6 separate regions of the Homo sapiens genome follow, and regions 1, 3, 4, 5 and 6 are each linked to region 2. The links are contacts of gene promoters, found by promoter capture Hi-C in blood cells and fetal thymus (Javierre and others, 2016). All regions are on one chromosome and are shown on one strand. The core of a region is centred on a gene start or on the middle of the fragment in contact, and the rest is flanking DNA. Distances in the headings are between cores, read along the strand shown.

The links. Contacts are between HindIII fragments. The CHiCAGO score rates a contact against its expected background, and 5 or more counts as called.
Region 1: a contact is called between a fragment that was not itself captured here and the fragment with the promoter of POMGNT2 in region 2, in 3 of 17 cell types (total CD8 T cells, total CD4 T cells and non-activated CD4 T cells). The highest score is 6.9, in total CD8 T cells.
Region 3: a fragment that was not itself captured here is called in contact with the fragment with the promoter of POMGNT2 in region 2 in 1 of 17 cell types (total CD8 T cells); the score reaches 5.9 in total CD8 T cells.
Region 4: a fragment that was not itself captured here is called in contact with the fragment with the promoter of POMGNT2 in region 2 in 4 of 17 cell types (activated CD4 T cells, non-activated CD4 T cells, naive CD4 T cells and 1 more); the score reaches 5.7 in activated CD4 T cells.
Region 5: a contact is called between a fragment that was not itself captured here and the fragment with the promoter of POMGNT2 in region 2, in 2 of 17 cell types (fetal thymus and non-activated CD4 T cells). The highest score is 6.2, in fetal thymus.
Region 6: a contact is called between the fragment with the promoter of NKTR here and the fragment with the promoter of POMGNT2 in region 2, in 7 of 17 cell types (non-activated CD4 T cells, total CD4 T cells, activated CD4 T cells and 4 more). The highest score is 9.7, in non-activated CD4 T cells.

Annotation. Positions count from the first base shown.
Region 1 is chr3:43,516,929-43,519,914 of GRCh38, forward strand. All of the region lies in intron 11 of ANO10 (anoctamin 10), which reads right to left. Among named protein-coding and RNA genes, the nearest start is that of ANO10, 100 kb to the right of the region's middle. The HindIII fragment of the contact is 2,558 bases long and covers 147-2,704 here.
Region 2 is chr3:43,104,702-43,107,401 of GRCh38, forward strand. POMGNT2 (protein O-linked mannose N-acetylglucosaminyltransferase 2 (beta 1,4-)) reads right to left here and starts at 1,378. Exons shown (of 2, transcript NM_032806.6): 1 at 1,135-1,378. RefSeq lists a silencer at 1,146-1,465. The HindIII fragment of the contact is 5,763 bases long and covers 1-2,700 here.
Region 3 is chr3:43,535,748-43,538,515 of GRCh38, forward strand. The region is part of intron 11 of ANO10 (anoctamin 10); the gene reads right to left. Among named protein-coding and RNA genes, the nearest start is that of ANO10, 85 kb to the right of the region's middle. RefSeq lists an enhancer at 399-1,333. The HindIII fragment of the contact is 834 bases long and covers 881-1,714 here.
Region 4 is chr3:43,498,019-43,500,900 of GRCh38, forward strand. All of the region lies in intron 11 of ANO10 (anoctamin 10), which reads right to left. Among named protein-coding and RNA genes, the nearest start is that of ANO10, 120 kb to the right of the region's middle. The HindIII fragment of the contact is 1,748 bases long and covers 580-2,327 here.
Region 5 is chr3:43,393,833-43,396,742 of GRCh38, forward strand. All of the region lies in intron 12 of ANO10 (anoctamin 10), which reads right to left. Among named protein-coding and RNA genes, the nearest start is that of SNRK-AS1, 43 kb to the left of the region's middle. The HindIII fragment of the contact is 825 bases long and covers 1,003-1,827 here.
Region 6 is chr3:42,599,264-42,601,963 of GRCh38, forward strand. NKTR (natural killer cell triggering receptor) reads left to right here and starts at 1,423. Exons shown (of 17, transcript NM_005385.4): 1 at 1,423-1,515; 2 at 1,721-1,801. The coding sequence starts at 1,744. It also overlaps a transcript of SEC22C not described here. RefSeq lists a silencer at 1,517-1,726. The HindIII fragment of the contact is 13,164 bases long and covers 1-2,700 here.

The sequences.
Region 1 (2,986 bases), core at 176-2,675, 410 kb after region 2:
TAGTGGTATTTATGGAATGGCCATGGGGACATGTCTTCAGGAAGCCAGAAGGCCAGGGCCAGCAGGGAGATGCATAGATTTATGAGTCGGCTGCACAGGCAGGAGAGCTATGCTATAAGAACAGCTACCATGCTGTAATTACATCAAGCTTAAGCCCAGGCCTCTGTAGGAATTAACTAATCAGTACATTTTTTTCAGTATCCAATCAAGTTTTTATAATCTAATCTCTTGTAAACATTCAATGTTTTACACAAAACAATTTTATTGAATGTCAAGATTATATGAATTTGATAAATATTCAAACATTTGTAACCTAAAGCAAATTTTTTCTAGTTTTTATATTAGTAATATCCAGTTGTGTTTAGCTTAATTATACCTACAGTGCTGCTTGAACTATCTGAGGTGAAGGACCAATTTTTAAATTCCCAGTCCATTATGGTCCTACTGTCCTATGGACTGAATGCCCCCTTGCCCTCAACAAATTCATGTTAAAGCTGTAACCCCCAATGTGGCTGTATTTGGAGACAGGGCCTACAAGAAGGTAATTAAAGTTGAAAGGGGTCATAAGGGTGGGGCCATGATATGATAGGACTATCATCCTTACATGAAGAGATACCAGTGAGCTCACATACTCATTCTCTTTGAGTACACACAAAGAATTGGTCATGTTAGGATATAGCAAGATGGTGGCCATCTAAAAGCTAGGAAAAAAGGTCTCAGAATGGAACCTACCCTGTTGGCACCTTGCTTGGATTTTTGTTCTTTAAGCTACCCAGTCTGTGTTATTGTGCAAACTAATGCATACTACGTGTGACCAAAATGAGCTTGCATCTCATGCAGATCATCATACAAATTGAGCACTACCCTAATTGGTTTACCTTGGTTAACAGGATAAGCCCACTGATTGTGTGCTTAAATACTGCAGCAGCATCAAACTGCCTTAGGAGTTTGTAAACACCTTCCATTTCTGTGCTTATCTGATTGTGGGCTGGTAAAAAATACTTTGTGGACTAACACCAGTCTGCAGATCACACTTTGTCCAGCACCAGTTTACAGTCTTTCTGTGATTGTTTTGTGAAAAAATGCAACATTTAGCTTAAGCACATAACTCAAAGGCAGGAATTTTAAACACACGTATGCTGCAGAGTGAGGGGAATAATACAGAAGCTCAGTCCTATCCTATCTGGGCAAGTGTTGTGGGAAGTCAGGAACCCTGAACGGAGGGACCTGCTGAAGCTGTGACAGAAGAACATAAATTGTGAAGATTTCATGGACATTTATTAGTTACCCAAATTAATACTTTTATAATTTCTTACACCTGTCTTTACTACAATCTCTGAACATAAATTGTGGAGATTTCATGGACATTTATCACTCCCCCAATCAACACTCTTATAATTTCCTATGCCTGTCTTTAATCTCTTAATCCCATCATCTTCGTAAATTGAGGATGTATGTCGCCTCAGGATCCTGTGATGATTGCGTTATCTGCACAAATTGTTTGTAGAGCATGTGTGTTTGAACAATATGAAATCTGGGCATCCAAAAGGAACAGGATGGCTGCGATTTTCAGGGAACAAGGGAGATAACCATGGGGCCTGACTGCCTGAGGGGCTGGACAGAACAGTCATATTTCTCTTCTTACAAAAGCAAATAGGAGAAATATCACTGAATTCTTTCTCTCAGCAAGGAACAGCCCTGAGAAAGAGAATGCTTTCCTAGGGGGAGGTCTCTAAAATGGCCGCTCTAGGAATGTCTGTCTTATATGTCGATAAGGGATGAAATAAGCCCCGGTCTCCTGTAGTGCCCCCAGGCCTATTAGGATTAGGAAATTCCTGCCTAGTAAATTTTAGTCAGACCGGTTGTCTGCTCTCAAACCCTGTCTCCTGATAAGATGCTATCAATGATAATGCGTGTCCAGTGGGACATGAAACTTCATCAGCAATTCTAATTTCGCCCTGGTCCTGTGATCTCGCTCTGCCCCCATTTGCCTTGTGATATTTTATTGCCCTTGAAGCATGTGATCTCTCTGACCCACACCCTATTCGTACACCCCTCCCCTTTTGAAATCCATAATAAAAACTTGCTGGTTTTGCGGCTCAGGGGGCATCATGGAACCTGCTGACATGTGATGTCTCCCCCGGACACCCAGCTTTAAAATTTCTCTCTTTTGTACTCTTTTCCTTTATTTCTCAGACCAGCCAACACTTAGGGAAAATAGAAAAGAACCTACGTTGAAATATCAGGGGCTGGTTCCCCCAGTAGGCAAGATCCCTCAAGACATTGCAGAAAGCAGTTTCTTAAAAATTAACAGCATTGTGCCTTATTTATAACATCCCCTGTATTCTGTTTCCCTTTAGCTCTTCCATCAGTCTCTGTAATCATATCCACAGAGCACATTACATACAATTAGATTACAAACTCACCGCTGGAGCACACTACTTCTTTTTCAATTGAGAATATATATCAATTCACAAAACAGATGCCCTCAAGATACTCTAACTAAGATGGACAAGCAAATTTATTCTTGTGATCCTGCCACTGAGGGGAGAATCCTCTGGTTGCAATGGGGCACCGTCCAACTTTCTGATGTCCATTCCAGAGGATCTTTGATGGAATCTAATTCATACATTTGGTTTCATTTGGAGCCATTACTTGTTTGCTTGTTTGTCCTCCTATAAGGTAGTGTTCACTCATTTTCAAAAGCTTCATCCAACTAGCCTCTACATCAAGTATGAGAACCATGCTTATCCCTTCACTCATATGAGGGCAGACCAGAGATCAGGAGAGATCATCATGGTCTCGGGCCAGGATCATGCTGATACACAGGTAGGTTACAAGATCACGGGGCATATTTTTTGCAAGCAAGATTGCTGTGAAGTTAACTTTGTTGGCTGAACTTTACATTTTTCTTATGTCCAAGGAAAAGAAGTGTTATTTGTCTTGTTTCTTTTCAGTTCTTGTAACTGTAGGGCTTAATGAGGGA
Region 2 (2,700 bases), core at 128-2,627:
TGAACCTGGACTCCAAGCACCTCTAACACTTTCTGTCGTTAGTCACCACGACTGCTGATATTTGCCACACACTTACTGTTAGACATACTGGGCTGAGGACTTGCCTGGCACTATTTCATCCCCACTGCAACCCCGTGATAAAGGCACTGTACTTTCATCTCCACTTCACAGAGAAAGAAACAGAGGCTAAGAGAGGATAAGTGACTTGCTTAAACGCACACCGCTAGTAGCCGAGAACCAAGATTTGAAGGCGGGGCACATATTGTAGTAAACATTTGGTGAATGAAACCTCCTCTGTCTATGCTCTTAGCTACTAAGTCCTATCAAGCTCGCCCCATAACCCTGAAGTCATCCTTTTCCACGCGGAGCCTTGCTTCTCCCAAGAGTACGCTCTAAGTGTTGGCTGGCAATAAAGTAGGCAGACACTGGTCGCCCTGCACCTGGTGCAAGACTCTGGCCTGACGGTCACATACTTTAGCAGAGAGTTCCCATCAGTGAGCTGGAGACGGGTTCCTAAACACACACATGGAGTCAGGAGTTCACTGGGTTCCTTCTTCAGAGGCTACTCTGGCACTGCCAAGCAGGCCGTGGCAAGCTCTTACCACCGGACACACATGGTAGGTGCCCTACTGGCCCCCAAAGCGCCCAGGAATCAGCTGCAGGCCTGCCGGGGTTCTGCCTTCAAAGGCAGTTGGGGAGGCCCAGGCCCGCTCCGCGCACCTCGCGTGGCTCCCCACCACCCCCGCCAAATGTGCACCACCCATCACCTCCCAAAGCAAAAGGGCCTGAGGACCCGACGCCAGTGCCTGCCACGAGCTGAGGGCTCGAACTGGCAAGCCCCAGGGCGTTGCCCAGGTCCCCGGCCCCCGGCCCCCGACCCCCAATCCCCGGCCCCCGACCCTGAGGGTCCACCCCCGCCCCGCCCACCTCCCGCGCCTCCCTCAGCTCGCTTCACACGTCACCCCTCAGTTCTGCAAACTCTCCTGGATCCCGAAGGCGTCCTAGAACCTCCCCCTCACCCCGGGGCCCAGCACCGCGTCGTCCCCTCCAGGGGGCCGAGGGTTCGACACCTCCACTTCAAGTCCCAGGCGGGTGTCGGAGTCCGCTCCAGCCCCAAGCGCGCGCGCGTCTTACCTGAAGCCTGGACTCCGCGGGACGAAGCCACCTCCGCCGACGCGTCCAGGAGGCCCCACGGCGGCGCCGCTTTCCCACCCCGCCGCCGCCCCCAGCGCCAGCTTCTGGCCCAGGAGGCCCAGAAGGCCCAGGCAGCCAGCACAGGTTTGGCCGCGCCGCCGGGTTCGCAGCGACCGCCACCTCCAGGCTCGCAGGTGTCCGCCGTGCGCCTGCCCGGCGGGCGAGCCCGGCGCGGAGCCTGTGCGCCTGCGCAGAGCCGCGAGTTCGGTTGCCCTGGCCCCGGCCACAACCTTGGCTCGCGGAATCCTGGGAGGTGTAGTTTTGCGTACGAGGACAGCCCGCGCCGCCACCAGCCTGCGGAATGTTGGGAGTGATAATTTGCGCCGAGAGGCTGAGTTTTACTTAGTGTTAGGATTACACAGTTATGGCAGTTCTGATAATAAATTTAAATGCAAGTTTAACCAACAACCAAATGTCATTGTAAAGTCAAGGTAATTAATACGTTTACATGCTTTTAAAAATTGTAATGCTACAGAGAACTTACAAAAGCACCAGTCCTCTGCGGCACCATTCCATTAACCAGCTGTCACCTTATCCCACCGTCCAGTCCTGGCTGTCCAGTCCTCAAGGGCAGCTACTTATGGCTGTGGCATCTGGCATTCCCGCGGATTCTCCGAATATACATATGCCCCTATTTCTTGAGTTATGAATTTTAGATCTTTTGACTTCTTTTTTAGATCTCTTGACTTTTTTTGAACTTAAGTCATCTAGAGATGCACCTACCACCACCAACTCCACCTCCATAGAGTTATAAGATTTCTACCTATCAAATTGGGAAAGCCCTGACTTTAATTTATGATTATTTTAAATTAGCCCAAATGTTAAGGTATTAAGTTGGTAAATTTTTGCAGGGCAATTTGTCAATACAGCCAAAAACCTTTAAAAACATGTAGTCAAAAGCCTCTAACCAAGAAATTCTAATAATTGTGGATGACTGCAAAGGCTGAATAGTGTTGTTTAGATGATAATAAACTGAAAGGCTGAAGTGGTGATATTACTTTCAGAGAGAGTAGAATTGACAGCAAGGAAAATTACCAAGAATAAAAAAGGGATAATTATATAATGATAAAAGGTTCAATTCACCAAGAAGACATAATTCTAAATGTGGATACACCTAACGACATAGCCTTAACATAAATAAATCAAATGATAGAACCATAATTAGAAATAGACAACTCTGCAACTGTAATTGGAAACTTCAGCATCCCTCTCTCAACAACTGATAGAACACTAGACAGAAAGTCAGCAAGGATATAGAAAAGATCAACACTAATACCATCCTAATCTAATTGATATTTACATAATACTTCACCCACCAACAGAATACACATTCTTTTCAAGCAACCTTGGTATATATATTAAGATAAACTGTATCCTGGATCATAAGTTTTTAAATATACAGAAGACATTAATATATATTTTACCAAAGTAGTTATACAGATGGCAAATAAGGACAGATGTTCATCACTAGCCATAAAGGAAATGCAAATTAAGACTATGCTGAGA
Region 3 (2,768 bases), core at 48-2,547, 430 kb after region 2:
AGGAGAAAAATCCTGAAAATCCAAATTCCATTAATCTCAGCTACTGTGTAAACTAGTAACTATGATATCAGTTGATAAAGGCTTTAAAGATTAAGTCTCTTTAAGTCTTCCCAAAGACTTTAAAGATTATAAAACTCTCCTGAAGAGGAATGAATAAGCAGGACTTGGCACCCTAGTTTTGAAAGTCTGTTGTCCCTCATTTTAAAGCATAAAAACTATAAGATAAGTACTGACAAATGTTTGTTATCCAATTGACAAATTAACTTTCACTTGGACCATAATCACATACTTATTAGTCTTTTGTATTTTAAAAACGCTTCTTCAGCTTAAACTCTTAAAAAGTTTCTTGGCTTAGGATACTTTGTAGATTATTTAAACATTCCTGATAAAAGTAAAACACAAAAGTAAATGTAACATTCCAAGTTGTTTAAAATGCTTCTTTCAATTTGAAATTATTTCTTTAAAAAGTACCAAATACAAACTTTATATTTATTAATGATTCCACTGATATCAACTGTGATCCCTCACTCATTAGAGCACTAGAATTCTCAATCACTCCCAGTGTGCCACTTCCTATTGCCCTTCTGCAAATCCTGATGATTCTAGAAGCACATGAATACCCTGTGCCCTCAAAACGGTTAGCAGCAGTAGCATATTACTTTCTACATAGTCATTTGCATTTATGGACATGACCTACATTTTGAAAGAGTGTTAAAACATAAAACAATAGATCATTTTTGTTCTTAAGTTTGATCAGTGAATTCTCAAATGTATGAGAATGATGCCTCACCTCATTAATTTCCTCTCATCAGCAAAACAATACTCAAGATGAGCAGCTCCTTTAATGGTAAAATGGAGTTCTGGGGCTCAAAGAAAGAAAAGCTTAAAAGCCCTCTTCTTTTGTTCCTTTCAGCAATATGCCTAAAAATTCAATTATAAAATCTTATTTGGTGTTTGAAAGGAGCCATTTACTATATAAAATCAAATTTTAGATTAACTGGTTTTCGGTTGCCTTGTTCTTAATTTTGAAAAAGAAAAAAAATCTACTTTTTTCATCTTGTAAACATGTCCTAAGCCACAAAAGATTTTCTAAAGCATTTTTTCAACAAGTTTTTATACATTTTAAAATTTACCTTTTAACTTAAATAGAAAATCACTCATCTTGGTGTATAGCACTTTCAGTTTTAATAAATGCACCCAGCTGTGAAACCATCACCATAATCAAGATACAGAACAATTTCATCACTCAAAAAAAAAAAAAAAAAAAAAGCCCTCACCTTTCACCTTACTCTGAGTCCTTGGCAACCATCCTCGGTTAAGTTTTAATGTCCAAACGTAGACTAGATGTATATTACAGCAATCTCCGGGACAAATTTAATAGCAAAGAGAAGACAATGCCAAGAGCTCTACCTGTCATCTTGCTCATATGTCCTTCCTACACACTCAGTGGGTAAGAGGCTTATAGGCTGTGGAAGAATATCATTGGTCTATCAGAGAGCTCCTCTTTCCTTGGGTTTCCTTTTCCAGCATAAAAGAATATCAACAAACTGTATTCTTTCTACTCATATCCCACCTCCTTTTTGCTGTGAAATATTCCCTCAACCTGAGTTCCTTGTGCACCAGTGACCACATCACAGGCTTAATTATTAGCACAGATGGTGCCAATTAGTTCTGTGTGAAGTGCTGAAATGGAAAGGATAATAGAAGCATTACAAGCTTCCTAAAAATGGTCACAGCTGGGGCCCAATGATGACAGCTTGGGGGCAACCATATCTTTACATTCTGCAGCTCACCTTCCACCTCCTGCTCCATCCACCAGAGCAGAACCATGATCTCAGGCTCAGAGCAGGCATACTTTATAAACCACACACACACACACACACACACACACACACACACACACACGTAACTAATATACGTCAGATAGGAAGAAATTTTCTTAGAAAGTAACCAATATTCAAAAACCTTTCTTTTCTGTTCATTGTTCTTAATATCCTTAGAAATAGTCGATTTCAGTAACATAACATAATGGGACTGGGAACACATTTTATTAGTTAGGAGGAAATTATAGTAGTAGTATTAACATCTTACATCTGTAAGCACCCTGGAGTCCACAAACCACCGTCACATAGTTTCTAATTTAATCCAGTCTTAGCCACATGGCACCCTGGAGGACTACAAAAGAAACTAAAGACCCTCTGAAGCTTTTAAGCTACAGACTAAAAAGGGTGGGGGGACAGAAGTAACAAGACATAAGAACAAATACAACATATCAAAATAACTAGAAACATTAAGATCTGGTCAAATTTATACCATTTCACCAAACCCAAAATACATAAATGTCTATGATACTAAAAAATGATAGTTAGACCTGGCCCTATTTTTGATATAAAATTTCAGTATAAAAAAAACAGCTAAGTGTTTCTAAAAGTGAAATTTGACGTAGCATACTAACACAGCATTTTGAGTTTGGGGTATTGTTAATGTGGGAAACCATTCCTAAAGAAATGGGTTATTGAACAGGGTCTACACATTGACAAATATGAATTTAAGAACAGCATTTTAACTGAGGAAAAAAAATAAGAAAAGAGGTATCAAAAACTGTACTGAAATGATCTTGCTTGTGAGTCCAGCTCTTCCAAAAGAAGGGTGAATTTATTTTCTTTGTATCTCCAGCACTGACTAGAAATTCAGAAAAAATTTTTAAAACGGAAATAAAACAAGTTATGTGAAAATACAGAAGGATACCTTAAAGAACAGGTTTTTTT
Region 4 (2,882 bases), core at 204-2,703, 390 kb after region 2:
ACTGTGTTCCTATCAGAATAAATTCTCAGCTGTGAATCAAGCATTAATCTGGTAATTATTTTAAAAGGATGTAAGTAGCATCAAATTTTCTGTTCATGTATTTCTTTAAAAAGTATGAATCACTGAAGCCTTGTTCTGCACTACAAAGTGTGTATGTGCAGCAGGATAAGACTTGATGCTTGGTTTGGCCACTGACTGGCTGTTGGCAGGTACAGCAAGGAGACAGTGGGAGTTTTCCTGCCCACTTCTTGGGAAGCCACTGGCTGTTCTGACCTTGGATATTTCTAATGCCTCCCCAGAAGATGGGTGGTACTCAGCGGGCAAGCCAACTGCCCTCCACCCCTGCAAAATCCAGCTGATTGAGGGAAGAACTGTGTAGTAGGGCAGATGTGACCTAACCTGGGAGGACAATCCCTGATGGCAGTGTTACCTACCAATTGTGTCAATAGGAGAGACCTGCCCCCAGCATGTCCTAGAAAGTAACAGAAACTCTGATGGGATGGCATATGGAGGGAAGAGTAGGGAATAAACACCACCTCCCGTGGCTTTCAAAGCCTGCCTAAAAGATCCCAAGTCCAAAGCTTAGCACAGAGGAAACCCAGCCATTCCCTTCCCTCTACTTTGTAGTCTGGACTATGCAGCTTACTATAGCTGAGATTTACTGATGCTGTCCTTTGTTTTTCAAAAAATATAATCCTCCCTCTTATTCTTGCGCATCCCCAGGGAGAAGCAAAGAGCAGTCAAAATATGAATGGGACTGTCCTTTTCAGCAGGTAGGGTAAGAGGGGAATAAAAATCAGAAAAATAAGATATAACATTTCTTGTACTCAGTGCTATAAAATAATTTAATCCTTGCTATATGCATATAAGGTAAACACACATATATGATCGTTCATTGTCAAATGGTTCTGCAATGCGACAGTCTTGAGGCTGTGGTGCTTGGGCACTGGGGGTAAGTCCCCAGACCCGACTACCTGAGGTGGTGGTGAGTACTGAGGAAGAAGCTAAAAATCACACCAAAACCTGGGGATTACATTGAGCCTTCTCCACCACAGTTCCAGGGCTCATGTAGAGAAACCACTAGAGAGAGGGGCAGTTTGTCCCTGTTTGTCCTTGTTTTTCACGTGTCTTCAAATTTCTAACAATGGCACAGGCAAATGCAGAGTGAAAATAAACTCGGCAAGTATTTATCAAACGATACTTGTGATAGGGTACAGAGACCCTATCACAAAGAGTTTACAATCTTTTACAGTTGAGGAACCCAGTCATGAAACAAATATAAAACATTTCCACAGCCATGTACAGTCAAGTGTATAGTTCAAATGATATACCTCCATAGAAGTACACTGAATGCTCTAGATGGGGAAGTATTTACTAGGGAGGGTTTGGCAGAGGAAGTCTGTCTTAGATTGAGCATCAAAGGAAGTATAGGAAGTAGGCTGACAGGAGGAGCATTGAGCAGGGGAAGAGGGCATTTGCAAGGCACAGAAGCCAGGATCAGCAGCAGTACAAAAACTGGGTGCTAGAGAGGAAGTTCAGAAATGCAGGCAAACCACACTTCCCACTATTATTCTTTCAACAATCTAGGATACCAAAAACTGTAAGACACCGTAAGACACACCATTCTCCCATATACCACCAAGAAAAAAAAATACTGCCAATTAAATAATTAAAGAAAGTGTTCTTATTACCTAGAATTCTAATTTGAAGGGCTCTTTTTAAAACTTCTTTAGATAGATTTTTTTTTAATAATCACTCCTGTGCTACCTACAAAATATAAGCAAAATATAGGCTTGTTAATGTACTACTAGATTTTTTTTTTTTTTTGAGACAGAGTCTCACTCACTCTATCGCCCATGCTGGAGTGCAGTGGCGTGACCTCGGCTCACTGCAACCTCCGCCTCCTGGGTTCAAGCGATTCTCCTGTCTCAGCCTCCTGAGTAGCTGGGACTACAGGTGCATGCCACCACACCTAGCTGTTTTTTTGTTTTTTGTTTTTGGTATTTTTAGTAGAGACAGGGTTTCGTCATGTTGGCCGGGCTGCTCTTGAACTCCTGACCACAGGTGATCCACCTGCCCGGCCTCCCAAAGTGCTGGGATTAGAGGCGTGAGCCACTGCGCCCAGCCCCATGTACTACTAGATCTTTTAAACATTCAGAGTCCAAGACTTCTAAATCAAGTTTTATCTCAGAGTTGACAATGCACAAATTTTCCAATACAAAATCCTCTTATGTGGCCTCAGCAGTGTGGGTGATGCAGCAGTCCTTAAAACAGTGCTTCACCACTCTATCCAGGATTTCCTTCCAAGCAGCTGGCATCCATTTGCAAGCTTCCATGCTGGTGCTTTTTCTGATCTTATCAAAAGGGGTCAATGAAAGGTTTATAGCCCCACCCAGAATTCATTTTCTATACTGACTGAAACCATGAGGAGTTGCTGTTGCCAAATCACACTACCAGAAATGGCCCAGTGTTGACATTCAAATTTGTCCACATGTTGACGATGGCAGCTCCCTGATATCCACTGTAAAATACATTCAATTTCAGAGGTACTAAAATGTGGGAGAAGTTAACCTTAGGCTCAGTGAAATGTGGTGGTATGATCTCTTAAGCTTCTGTCCTAAGCTATAACTCTGCAGGTATTAAAAGTAAAACCAGTCTTGAATGTAATTGACTGAAATCACGATTTGCCTTTTCAACCCTGAGTGACACTTTAGTGCACAAACACAACCATTACAGAAATTATCCTAATAAATATCTTACTTTATCAGTGTATATACTCTGAATTGGGTTGGCATAATCTTAGAAGGTTTAGAAAGACTCCATAAGCTTTGACATCTACATGACTTCCTATAGCTCAACCTAGAATGGTGATCAACAACAAC
Region 5 (2,910 bases), core at 165-2,664, 290 kb after region 2:
GAGACTTTGGTCTCTCTCTCTACCCCTAACCCCTCCATTTCCAGATCTTGGCCTTTTCCAGAGCAAGACAATGGCACCTCAAGACCCCCTCTACCTGCTGCCCAGCCCCTAATTTTTCTGCCCTATACATAAGCCTAGGAACTGAGCTAGGAGAGAATGAACACCCCTGGGGGTGGGAAAAGGCTGTGAACACTCACAGGGTATCATAACTTTTTTTTTCTGTCACTTCATTTGCATGAGAATTGGGGGAAGTTTAGGGTGGCTGGTAGGCCTGATAAGTGTTGGTAGATATGCTTTCACATCTTGGAAATCCGTGCTAATGAGACAACATCCTTCCTGTTTGGCCTCCCTGGAAGAGGGGCCTTAGACGTTGTCCCCCTCTGGTCCCTACCCCCAGGCATCACCACCTCTCATGGTCAGCAGCACATTTCCTGTGACCTGCCTATGATCTCTTCTTCTTGTACTAAGGCCTGGCAGGCAGCCACCCCTTGAAAAGTCCAGCTCTATCCTCTATGGGAAAACCTTCCTGTCATAAATATACCACCAGTAGCTCTGCATTTTTCTTTTTCCCTTGTGTCAAATTCTCCCACCCTCACCTCTTGACCCTAAGCCTCTTCAGGATATTTGTTTTCCTGGCTCCCTTCCTGAATTTTTTCCATCCTGCACAGGAATGTTTAATCTCCTCTAAAGAGTTAGAGCCTAGATCTTCTCTTCCAGTAAGAAGATGTAGAATTTATAGGAAACAGTGAAAACGACAACAACAACGCCCTTACACTTGCATTTAGTTTTCCCATTTTACAGAATCATTTCCCATGGTAGTGAAGAAACCTAAGCAGCCTATCTTGGCACAACTGAAAAACGCAACAGTGGTTAAGAGAAGGCCACCTTGAGCTGCCCCGGGTGGAGGGGTGGGGGTGCACTTTGAAGCCCTGATCTCTAATTCTCACAGTGTTCCCATTTACAGATGTAGTAACTGACATGGGCAAGGTCCTACCACTAATAAGCTTAGGTCTTAGGGTAAAAATCTAGGAGTGCTGCTTGGCTCCAAACCACTTTTCTTCCCAATTGCCTAAATTTCCATATCTTCTGGTATTCAAGAGAGGTCCACTCTTATGTGGCTTTTCGTAAAAAGTTTTCTTATTTTAGGAAACTATGATTTTGCTGGACTCTTTTGCTGCTTGGCTTTTTCTCCTAGTGAAGAAAGGGTACAAGGTAAGGGGGACTGAGGTGAGAGGGAAGAGGGTGGGTAGCTGAATTCTCTAATACAGTTCATCTCCAGCCCAGAGATGGTAATAATCAATGTTATTATCAGGTAATTATCAGGGTAATTATCAGTTTTTTAACAATCAGAGGACCCTAGGAAAGTTTTCTAGCAGATTCTCCTGCTTTTCTTTTAGCTTTCTCATTATATAGATGACAAGATTTGGAAGGGCAGAAGTTTTAAATTTTGATGAAGTGTCATTTATCGATTTGTGGATCATACGTTTATGGATCATACTTTAGGAATTGTAGCTGAGAAATCTTTGCCTAATGTAAGGTCTCAAATATTTTAATGTAAGATCTCAAATATTTTATCTTTTTTTCTGGAAGATTTAGAATTTTAGATTTTACATCTACGTCTATAATCCATTTTGGTATGATGTATGGGTCCATGTTCATTTTTTTGCACATGAATATCCAATTGTTCCAGAACCGTTTATTGAAAAGACTATTCTCTACTGCATGGTCTTTGCACTTTTGTCAAAAATCAGTAGTACATACATGTGTGAGGTTATCACCGAACTCTATTCTGCTCCGTTAATCTACACTATTCCCCCCTGTATAATAAGCTTTGAAATCAAGTAGTCTTCCAATTGTGTTCTTCTTTTTAAAAGCTTTGGCTATTCTAGGTCCTTTGCATTTCCATATGAATTTTAGAAGCAAGTTCATCAACTTCTACAAAAAAAAAAAAGCCTACTTAGATTCTTATTGGGATTATACTGAATCTATAGAACAGGGGTTGGCAAAATATTATTAAAAGGCTGGACGTAAATATTTGAGGCTTTTGGGCCATATAGTCTCTGTCACAATGACTCAACTTTCCCACTGGGGTGCAAAAGCAGCCACAGACAACCTGCAAATGACGACTTCTAGTTTCTGCAGATCCATCAGATTTTCTGTGCAGATGATCATGTCATTTGTGAGTAGACAGTTTTTTACTTCTTCCTTTCTATTCTGAATGCCTTTTATTAATTTATTTATTTATTTTTTTTTTTTGCTTGATGGCGCTGGCCAGAACATTCGGCATAATGTTGAAAAGAAGTGGTAGGAATAGACACCCTTTTATTGTTCCTTATACCAAGGGGAAAGCATTCAGTCTTTCATCACTAAGTATGACACCAGTTTTAGACTTTTCATAGATGCCCTTCATCAGGTTGAGGAAATTCCCAATTGCTGGATGATGTCCCATAGTTCACTAAAGCTCTTTTCATTTTTACAATTATTTTTTCTTTCTTCGCTTCACGTTTGATAAGGTTTTTTTTTTGAGATGGAGTCTCGCTCTGTCGCCCAGGCTGGAGTGCAGTGGCGCAATCTTGGCTCACTGCAACCTCCGCCTCCCAAGTTCATGCCATTCTCCTGCCTCAGCCTCCCAAGTAGCTGGGACTACAGGCGCCTGCCACCACACCCGGCTAATTTTTTGTATTTTTAGTAGAGACGGGGTTTCACCATGTTAGCCAGATGGTCTCGATCTCCTGACCTCGTGATCCACCCGCCTCAGCCTCCCAAAGTGCTGGGATTACAGGTATGAGCCACCGCACCCGGCCCATGTTTGATAAGTTTTATTGTTTTTTCTTTTTTTTCCCCCAGAGACAGGGCCTTGCTCTGTCGTCCAAGCTGGAATACAGGAGTGCAATCATAGCTCACTGTAGC
Region 6 (2,700 bases), core at 173-2,672, 510 kb before region 2:
CATGTAATGTGTATTTTATAGTTTAAAAAAAAAACTTATAAAATAGTGTGGTACTCAGACACAGATCATTGGAACAAAAATCCAGAAACAGACCCACACATATATGGTCACAAGGCGAAGGTAATTCAATGTATAAGAGTCTTTTCAGGCCGGGCGCGGTGGCTCACGCCTGTAATCCCAGCACTTTGGGAGGCCGAGGCGGGCGGATCACGAGGTCAGGAGATCGAGACCATCCCGGCTAAAACGGTGAAACCCCGTCTCTACTAAAAATACAAAAAATTAGCCGGGCGTAGTGGCGGGCGCCTGTAGTCCCAGCTACTTGGGAGGCTGAGGCAGGAGAATGGCGTGAACCCGGGAGGCGGAGCTTGCAGTGAGCCGAGATCCCGCCACTGCACTCCAGCCTGGGCGACAGAGCGAGACTCCGTCTCAAAAAAAAAAAAAAGAGTCTTTTCAACAAACGGTAATGGAACGACTGTATATCCCAATAGGAAAATGTTGACACTTACTTGACAACATAAGCAAAAATTAATGATATTAGATCATATCATAGACTTACACGTTAAAGACTATGTAAAACATATATGAGAACACAGAATATCTTCAAGAACTTGAGGTAGGCAGAGATTTCCTAGCACAGGAAAAGCACAAACCATTAAAATATAAAACTGACCAATTGACTTAATCAGAATTAAAAACTTCTTTGCCAAAAACGTCAAAACAATGAAACGACAGGCCCAGATTGGGAAAAAGACTTCGCAATCATTTATGTAACAAAAGATTTTCATTCAGAGCATACATATATCTAACAAAACATTTGTATCCAGAACTGTTAAACACGAAGGACCAGATTTAAAAACGGGCAGAAGACTGGAACTGAAACTTCACAAAAGATGCAGAATGGTCAGTAAGCACAGGACAAAAACGGTGCCAGTGACGCTGGTGCCAAAGCGGGAAGGAACGCATTCTTCAGCCTAAAAGACCTAACAGTAGGACACGGACATAACCACTCCCGGCCAAAAAGAACACAGAGCAACACAACGTCTTGGCTAACGAAAACTCAAAGCCTCAATTCACTCAGTTCCTTCACAGCGCTCGGAAACAGAGAAGTCTCGCGGTATCGGAAAATGCGCGGCGCTCACAGCCACACCTGACGAGATGGAGGGCGCAGGCGCATCCACGGCTTTCAGATTGGGCGACTGACTTCAAAGGGGGGGGCAAACAGGGAACGCGCAGGTATAGGAGCGCTGGCTGGAGGCTCCTCGAGAGCTCCCCAGACACGCCCCCGTGCGTACGCCCCCGTGCGTACGCCCCCGCTGCCGCCACCTTCGGTTGACCACCCCCATCTAGACTGTACTCTCGCGGTATTTGTCCCGACTCTCGCGGGGTTTAGCGTGGCATTGGGAGGCCCGGCCTGGGGGAGGAGACGGCGTTCCGTTAGCGGCGTTGGGGTTTGGCTGCAGTGGCAGTGCTTTCTCTTCTGCTCACGGGGACCCGCTCAGGCTGGAGGCCAGCCAGGTGAAGAGCTCGCCCGCATGCGTGCGCGCTGCGTGGGAGCCGCGAGGCCCGGGGCGGGAGGGGGCCTCGTCTTGGCCTCCTGCGCTGTCGCGACGGGCCGGCGTGAGGCACCGTGGCGCGGACTTCGTCTCAGCCCCGCCCTCGCCCCTGCCCTCGCCCCCGCCCTCGCCCCTGCCCTGACCGCTTTTCTCCCCCTCTCTCCCAGCTCTTGCCGCCACCTCGGTCGCGATGGGGGCGCAGGACCGGCCGCAGTGCCACTTCGACATCGAGATCAACCGGGAGCCGGGTGAGCTGGAAACTGGGGAGCGCTGCTGGGGCCGAGGCCTGCCTTGGCGAAGGGGAGGGGTCTACCCTCAGCAACCCTCCCCCGGCCTTTTTGGGAGCGGGTAGGAGGCGCAGGCAACTTTCCGTTTTCTCTTGAGAGAAAATCAGTGGGAGAGGAAGGTGGCCTGGGCACACCCCTAACTCGCAGTCCGGGCCTCTTCCTGCCAAACCCCACACACCCCGCTGCATCTCCGGACTGAGTCCTCGTAGCCAGCCTGGCGCCAAGAAAAGGAGGTGCAGTTCTTTGAGGACTTTTTCTCTCCCAGTGTCTCCGTGAGGCAGACACTCCCGATCCGATTTCCGGTTATCTTGCTTGGTGCTATGAAGTTTCAACTAGTAGGAAATATTGTGTGTTTCCTAATCACGATATATCACTAATATGTTAATTTTGCCTCTATTTTTCCTTAAGAATCTTTAGCTAGAATTTCGTGGTTCCTGGGAAAATGGCTTAGTGAAGATCTTTTGTGATAAACCAGAGCATTTTGTACCAGCAGAATTGCAGCATGCATGCACTTAGCATTAATGTTTGTCTTTAGGGAATCCAGACATTTGTTAGTGTATTTTTTTTAAATGAAACATTTCCTTCTAAAGCATAGTTATTTCATTCTAAGTAGCAGAGCGTGCAGGGTTTCAAACTGTTTTCTTAGCTTTTTTTGTTATCCGTGACAAAAGTTTTAATTGGAGACATATATATATGTGTTGTCTTTGTGCAACATCTTGTTCTGCATATTCTTATGAGAGCCTGCTACTGTTCTAGGGTCTGGAGATAGAGCAGCGCATAAAACAAAGGCCTCTTCCTTTTATAGTTTATATTCTATTGGGGGGAAGACGGACAACTAGGAAAAAAATAACAGTGACTTG